Linked DNA regions of Homo sapiens: region 2 is linked to region 1. Evidence: promoter capture Hi-C in 16 types of primary human blood cells and fetal thymus (Javierre and others, 2016). All regions are on one chromosome and are shown on one strand. Each heading gives the region's core, a stretch centred on a gene start or on the middle of the fragment in contact. The rest is flanking DNA. Distances are from core to core; before and after follow the strand shown.

The links. Contacts are between HindIII fragments. The CHiCAGO score rates a contact against its expected background, and 5 or more counts as called.
Region 2: the fragment with the promoter of STARD6 here is called in contact with the fragment with the promoter of HAUS1 in region 1 in 1 of 17 cell types (total B cells); the score reaches 5.7 in total B cells.

The regions. Positions count from the first base shown.
Region 1 is chr18:46,102,424-46,106,390 of GRCh38, forward strand. It overlaps HAUS1 (HAUS augmin like complex subunit 1), which reads left to right and starts at 1,962. Exons shown (of 9, transcript NM_138443.4): 1 at 1,962-2,018; 2 at 2,771-2,945. The coding sequence starts at 1,989. It also overlaps a transcript of ATP5F1A not described here. RefSeq lists a silencer at 1,787-1,886 and an enhancer at 2,277-2,366. The HindIII fragment of the contact is 1,925 bases long and covers 552-2,476 here.
Region 2 is chr18:54,355,793-54,359,759 of GRCh38, forward strand. STARD6 (StAR related lipid transfer domain containing 6) reads right to left here and starts at 2,066. Exons shown (of 8, transcript NM_139171.2): 1 at 2,000-2,066; 2 at 569-652. C18orf54 (chromosome 18 open reading frame 54) reads left to right here and starts at 2,114. Exons shown (of 9, transcript NM_001288980.2): 1 at 2,114-2,283; 2 at 2,982-3,078. RefSeq lists enhancers at 2,618-3,129, 2,631-2,700. The HindIII fragment of the contact is 3,120 bases long and covers 929-3,967 here.

The sequences.
Region 1 (3,967 bases), core at 712-3,211:
AGTGATTCTCTTGCCTCAGCCTCCCAAGTGGCTGGGATTACAGGCACGTGCCACCATGCCTGGCTAATTTTTGTATTTTTAGTAGAGATGGGGTTTTGCCATGTTGGTCAGGCTGGTCTTGAACTCCGGACCTCAGGTGATCCACCTGCCTCGGCCTCCCAAAGTGCTGAGAATATAGGTGTGAGGCACCGCATCCAGCCAGAGCAGAGATATGTTTGAAGCAAAAAGAATAAGCAAGACAGGCTGGGTGTGGTGCCTCATGCTTGTAATCCCAGCACTTTGAGAGGCCCAAGTGGGAGCATCACTTGGGGCCAGGAGTTCAAAAACAGCCTGGGCAACATAGTGAGACCCTCTTTCTACAAAAAATACAAAAAGTTAGCTGGGTGTGGTGGTGCACGCCTATAGTCCCAGCTACTAAGGAGGCTGAAGCGGGAGGATTGCTTGAGCCCAGGAGTTCAAGGTTGCAGTGAACTGTGATCACCACTATACTCCAGCTTGGACGAAAGAGCAAGACCCTGTCTCTAAAAATAAAATAAAATAAATAATAAATAAGCTTGGCTTGCTAGTAAGTTTCCTTTGAAAAGAAAATCATTTTAGGCTGGGTGTGTTGGCTCACACCTGTAATCCTAGCTCTTTGAGAGGCCGAGGCAGGCAGATCACTTGAGGTCAGGAGTTTGAGACCAGCCTGATCAACGTGGTGAAACCCCCCGTTCTACTAAAAATAAAAAAATTATCCCTGCATGCTAGCACAAGCCTGTAATCCCAGCTACTAGAGAGGATGAGACAGGAGAATTGCTTGAGCCTGGGGACGGGGGTTGGAGGTCGCAGTGAGCCAAGATCATGTCACTCTGCACTCCAGCCTAAGCGACAGAGAAACACTCCATCTCAAAAAGAAAAGAAAAGGTCGGGCGCAGTGCCTGTAATCCCAGCACTTTGGGAGGCCAAGGCGGGCGGATCACCTGAAGTCAGGAGTTCGAGACCAAGCTGGCCAACCTGATGAGATCCCATCTTTACTAAGATACAAAAAATTAGCTGGGCGTGGTGATGCACACCTGTAATCCCAGCTACTCGGAAGGCTGAGGCAGGAGAATCGCTTGAACCCGGGAAGCAGAGGTGGCAGTGAGCTGAGAGCCGAGAGCCGAGATCGTGCCACTGCCCTCCAGCCTGAACAACAGAGACTCCATCTCAAAAAAAAAAAAAAAAAAAAAAAAGCTGGGCGCGCTGGCTCACGCCTGTAATCCCAGCACTTTGGGAGGCCGAGGTGGGCGGATCATGAGGTTAGGAGTTCGAGACCAGCCTGGCCAATATGGTGAAACCCCGTCTCTACTAAAAACACAAAAATTAGCCAGGCGTGGTGGCGCTTGCCCGTAGTCCCAGCTACTTGGGAGGCTGAGACAGAAGAATCGCTTGAACCCAGGAGGCAGAGGTTGCAGTGAGCCGAGATCATGCCACTGCACTCCAGCCTGGGCGACAAAGCGAGACTCTGTCTCAAAAAAAAAAAATGTCCCTAGTTTTTAGGTTGGGGGAACTAACGGATCAAGTTAAGATTGCCTCAGCTCATATTGCCAGGGTAGAATATAAATTCTGAGTGGATGCAATCAATGTGGAAGAAACACAAACATCTTGCTAAGCAAGAACCAAACGTTTCAAGTACTTTTTTTTAACGACAAGTGATTCAAACAAGAAATAAAAATAAAAGAAAGAAAAAACAACCTGGTTCTAGGCGGCTCTATCTCTCGTAGTGTTGATTATACCGCGGAAGGCGGGAAGAGCTGGGAAGTGGCAACGAAGCGAGGCTTGCAATGCCAGAGCCTTCGACCAGCCTTGCACAGGGGCTCAACGGCCAGGAGTCTCAGGTAAAACCACAACTCCCAGAAATCCCGGGCCCGGCGAGGGGCGGGTGCCAACGGCGTGTGGGCGGGGCCTAGGGAGTGAGCGGGGCGCATCTCCCGCTAGGAGTTCCTAGTAAAGTGGCGGGAGCCGCAGCTATGGAGCCGCAGGAGGAGAGAGAAACGCAGGTGATGGGGCGGGAATGGGGATCGTTGGCCTCCTGGAAAACGCGTTTTTGACACCCCCGCGCCGACAGCGGGTCTCCTGTGCGCGCCACGTCTACTTTTCTCTCCCCTATTCCACACATCCGTCTTTTAGTGCCGCCGTCACTATCTGCAAGCCCCCCGTGCTTAGACTCTCCTGAAGGCCTTTCCCTTCCTGCCCGGGCCTCCCCTTGTTTGGATCTGGCCCGGGAGAGGCGTTGAGCAGCCCGTGTCCACAGACTCTGGAGTGGGACTTATGAAGCCAAACCCGCCTTCCGGTTCGCTGCTCAGCCCGGCGGCTTCCACATCTGAACTGCTTCCGCGCCCTGCATCCCAACACTGGGAGCCTCCCGGCGCGGCGGGGCTTCTGGTGATCGAGGGACAATTGCTTTTTTCAGACCATGCACGGTCTAATAATGCGTTCGCATTATTATGGTCTATTAAGCTTTAAGGTTTTTCAAGCGAGGCAAATTGTTAGCCTGTACCGCTTTTGCAGATTTGGAAAAGAACGGATTGTTCTCTGGTAATTTTCAGTATTGTACGTTTCTTTGTGTACTTGCTCACTTTTTATTTCCTGATATCTAGTATCTCCCTAAAGACAAGTGAGGTTGTGAAGTAGGACTCCAAAATAGTCACAGAAAGCATTTAGTTTGCTTTTGATCACTTCTTTGTCATATTCTCATCGAGCCATTACAGTAAACAAGGCTTATAATATTTGTCTTTCTTTTAATGGTTAGGTTGCTGCGTGGTTAAAAAAAATATTTGGAGATCATCCTATTCCACAGTATGAGGTGAACCCACGGACCACAGAGATTTTACATCACCTTTCAGAACGCAACAGGGTCCGGGACAGGGATGTCTACCTGGTAATAGAGGACTTGAAGCAGAAAGCAAGTGAATACGAGTCAGAAGGTGAGATTAAGTCCAGAGTTTTGAACGAGAATAAATAGAGGTAACCAAATTTTATAACACTAAAGTATACAGGATTAATTTACTGTAGACTACTTGTTTTGCTCCTTTATTTTTCCCAGATTTTCTTCCACTCTGTTATAGTAGTAACTTTATTGTTTTATGTTTATATATATGTATATGTATGTGTGTGTGTGTGTGTGTGTGTGTGTGTGTGTGTGTGTGTGTATATATTTTAGACAATCTTGCTCTGTCGCCCAGGCTGGAGTGCAGTGGTGTGATCTCAGCTCACTGCAACCTCCATCTCCTGGGTTCAAGTGATTCTCATGCCTCAGCCTCCCAAGTAGCTGGGACTACAGGCCTGCACCACCACACCCGGCTAATTTTTGTGTTTTAGTAAAGACAGGGTTTCACAATATTGGCCAGGCTGGTCTCGAACTCCTGACTTCAGGTGATCCGCCTGCCTCAGCCTCCCAAAGTGGTAGGATTAGAGGCATGAGCCACCCTGCCTGGCCAGTAGTAATTCTCTAAGTAATAAATGTTATTATACTAAATATCTTATTGGTACTCTGATAGCAAAACAGTAAGCCTTAAAAGAGTCTAAACTTGTTAGTCTGACACACAAGATGCCTTGTGGTTTTTTACTTACCTATCTGTTTTTTCTGTTTCCGGTCTCCATGATTTAGTCATACGGACCTATCAGGACACCTGAGGTGGTGGCCATGAAATGTGAGACTTGGACGAAATTACTCTATGACTACGTATCAGGAGATTGCATTAGAATTTTCTGCTGGGCATATATAGTTTGAAAAAGTGCATTCAAGGCCGGGCACGGTGGCTTACGCCTGTAATCCCAGCACTTTGGGAGGCCGAGGCGGGCGGATCACAAGGTCAGGAGATCAAGACCATCCTGGCTAACACGGTGAAACACCGTCTCTACTAAAAATACAAAAATTAGCCGGGCGTGGTGGCGGGCGCCTGTAGTTCCAGCTGCTCGGAAGGCTGAGGCCGGAGAATGGCGTGAT
Region 2 (3,967 bases), core at 816-3,315, 8.3 Mb after region 1:
CGGAAGCTGCAGTCTCACTGGTCCTTCGGGTCATCATCCAGCTTTCAGTTAGGGGAAGCTGGCAGGTAAGGTGAAAACAGAACTGGATTCAAATCCTGACTTTGTCACTTAGTACAGCTATATTATTTTGGATAAATTGCTTAACCTTTGAACTTCAACTTCCATATCTATAGAATGGGGATAATAATATCTATCTCACCGAATCATTATAAGGATTAGTTGAGTTAATATATGTAAAAATGCTTTAAACAGTGTGGAGCCCTATACTAGGTTATCAAAATAGTTAGTTTCTCTTTAAAAAAATGGACACATATAAATCCATCATTTAAAAAACTCTCCAAAGATCTGCTTCCTTAAGCACTTAAATAAACCTTCTTAAAGTTTAATTATTGGAACATTTCTTCCTTAGCTCTCACTTAAAACTCTTCAGGTTGGATCATAAATCTATTTTCTCTTATTTAATTCTCCAGCAAGGCACAACAGGTAGTTGATAGTCTCTATATTTGAAAAGTTTTAGTAAACCATTATTATAACCTCCTCTTTCCTAGCAGAGTCCTGGTTTCTTTACCTTTCCTGACAGATCTAATGCAGAATTTTAGTAACTACTGGGGCTCCTCTCCAAATCCTTGTGGAAATCTCCATATCTCTTAACCTGTGAGGAAACAAGGCAGAAGTAGAATTATTTTGATCCATGAATTAGGTCAATATATTTGATAATTTTCTTTATATCTTCTCAGTGTCCTTTATCTATACTTTGTCTTCATTAGGAAACATTTGCTACATATATGCCCCAAGATGAAAGAAAAATATAGTACAAAAAACTTTAAAAGATACTGTTTATAAAAAGAATCTTTAAGAAACTATTTTAAAGGAACTCAGTTTAAAAAGACACTTAGGTGGAACGTGGATACAAAAATTTAAGTTTTTAAGCTTACGTCACTAACAATTAACAAGGATTGTTAATCCCCGACCAGGGCTCGTCTTAGCATATAAAACACCGTTCTTGATTTCCTATTGGAAACCTACTTGATATTAATTGATCTAGAGACTTTGAAGATTATTGGGACATACCACTAGCAGGGTATGTCTTATTTTCAAATCACCAACTATTACTGCCACAATAGACCTGTGTTTAACCACTAAACTGAACGTTATAGCTTCCGGACTTTTTCATTTGCTAAGAGAAAAGGGAAGGTAAAATTTAGTAGGCTACAAAGGGTAAAAAGAAGAAAGTGCAAACAGTAAGACTACAATTGTATTACATGGTGGTGGAACGTCGGATGAGCTGGAACATATTCAGATGGACTCATGGTCAAGGATATCTTCACTCATAGGGTCAGTGGAAAATAAACATAAACCAACATTGGGATGGCCTCTTTTTTTGATACACCAATTGGTTGAAACTGGATTCCTTCCAGACTTACAGACAGGTTCACACATGTTAGTGAGTCTTTACATCTGTTTGTACAATGACCCTCTTTCTGAGCTGCCTGACTGGGTCCCCAATCCGTGCGGGGTCACTGCCATTCTTCCCTGGGAATCAAGGCTTCCTAGGAGTTTGTTAAATCCCATCCCTGGCTAAACTCGGGTCTCCAATCTCCCATCTGCTTTGTGTGTGAGAGGCTCCGGGGTGTGAGAGGAAAGGCACTGAAGAGGGAGTGAAAGAAGTGGTGAGGGGGGACTGCCTACTAGCTGAGACGATATCTTATTTTTGGCGGGGGATGCTCTGGAAGCGGGGAGGCTGAACTCACTTGGAAAAACTGGAGCTGTGGGGCAGACTCTCAGCGACCGGAACGACAGCCGCCAGCGCCCTTAAGTCTCCCTCCCCACCCAGTCCCCTCCCGCAGACCCCGGGGCCGGCTGAAGGGAGATCAGCAAGTCCCCGCGCAAACTGGCCGAGAATAGCTGTGACGGAGGTTGGAAGGGCGTGGGGGGCAGCGACTTGGATGCAGCCCACATCCCCCCATTCCCAGCCCCAGAAAGGAGGGAGAAACAGCACCTTCCAGCAGGGGTCGCGACCTAACGCTCAACAGCATCCTCTCTTCTCCGGCCGCTCCCTCATCTCCGCTCGCGCCCGGCGCCCCACTGCCGCGCATGCGCACCGCAGGCCGGCGCCATGTTGGGGCGGTTTGAAAGCGAGCGCGGGTGTCGAGCTCTGCTGTGACTGCGGAGGAAGCTGCGAGTGAGCCGAGCCTGAGGCGGGGCGGTGTCCGGGTTGGGGATGCTTTGTGGTGTCTCGCGTTGGGTAACAGGCCTGAGCTTTCGGCGGAGAGCTGTGGAAGTGTGCGGTTTTTGTTTTTGTTTTCCTTTATTTTTATTTTGGGGCCTTAGGGGTGAGTTAGGACGGAAAGGAGGGTGTCTTTTCGAGGGTTGTCCCATCCTGTGACAGCCGAGAAAAGGCGAAAGGAGAGTGGCGAGGAAAGAGGAGGAGACGTCTCCTGAGGGAGGGCGCTTGTGGAGTCTCTGTGGAAGGAAGAACACTGTAGGGGGAGTGCCCCCTGGGCGAGGGAGGGTCGCGGGACGCGGCGGAGGGGGCTCACACGGGCGTCTGCGGACCTGAGGCGGCGACAGGAAGGGGCTTGCGCTCTGGGGCTGTCGCTTCGGAACACTTCTCCTTCAGTCCATTGCTGCGCTCGCCCTGGCTGCTGAATAAATGGTTTCGGAGTGAAAAGCATCTCACTGAAGAACTTGTCTGTGTCTGTGACTGACGGGCGGTGGAACACCAAAGGGAGGGTGTCGCCTGATTGGGACTGGAAAAATTGGAATTCAGGGCGCCCGGGGTAGGGGAACGATGCGCACTGCTGGAGACGGGCGACCTTCGCTGGCCGGTCGGTGGGTTCCTGGTTTTCTGCTGCCGAGTAAACAAACGTTCCCTTTCCTAACTTAGCAGTCACAGAGCTATTTCCAAGAGTTGTTCTTAATTTCCTGTGCGATATTCCCATTGGCTATTTAACACTGAACATTCTGTTTTTGAATCAAAGTTAGTTAAAATTTGTTGTCAATAAGTTTAACATTCTGTTCTTCCGCGTGATGGATTTTCTTTTGGAGATTCGAACTGAAGCCTGTACGGAGGAAATGGTAAGATATATGGGATTTGCATGAGATATGTGGGGTTCAAAATAATCCTGTGGCTGAAGTGGGGAGAAGTGGGTGGGTCCCTACCCACTTTAGCTACAATTGGGGTCTGTTCAGCGATTGTTGGAAGCAGGATGATGAGTACATAGGGGTTTATTGAACGATTCTACTTTTGTATACTCTTTTGGGGAAAAGTTGGAAAACTTTTCATAATGAAACTTAAATTGTGCATTTTCTTTTTGTCTGTCCTGTGAGTTGAAATAACTAGTAAATGTTATCACCCACTTACGGAGACCAATACAACAGCTTTCTCTTTCAAGGTTTTGTAAAATAAAATCAGTAGCCTGTTCGGCATTCAAAGACAGAAAACATTTGGTCAGGCTTATCCAAACAAATTTACTTGAGTGAGTTTAAACTTCTTTAAATAAAAGGGATACGAAAAAGGTAAAGCTGGCTTAGTTTAGCCATTCGTCAGAGATATACCAGTATTACAGAATTCAGATAAATCAATGAGACGAAACAACTGTTACCTTATGTTCTGCCATTTGCACTGACCACGGTCAGATCTCTTGTAATGGCCATTGCATGCTCTAACGCTGTGGTAGGATGATGTTTTACTTTGTCTCTTATTTAATTAGAAAACTTTCGATGTTTTAAAGCCAAATTTAATAGTTACTAAGATTACATTAAAAGTTGTTATAACAAATATTTCTAAAATTATAGCCAAAAATTAAACATTATAACATCATAGCATATGTTAAGTCCTCAACATTAATACTTTTTTAGTATAGGAAATCCATTCATTTAATTTTAAAAAGAATGTCATCATGGACTGAATTAGTGCCGGTTCGTTCTGTGATTTCTTAGGTTTTCAAATATACATCCTGTTACT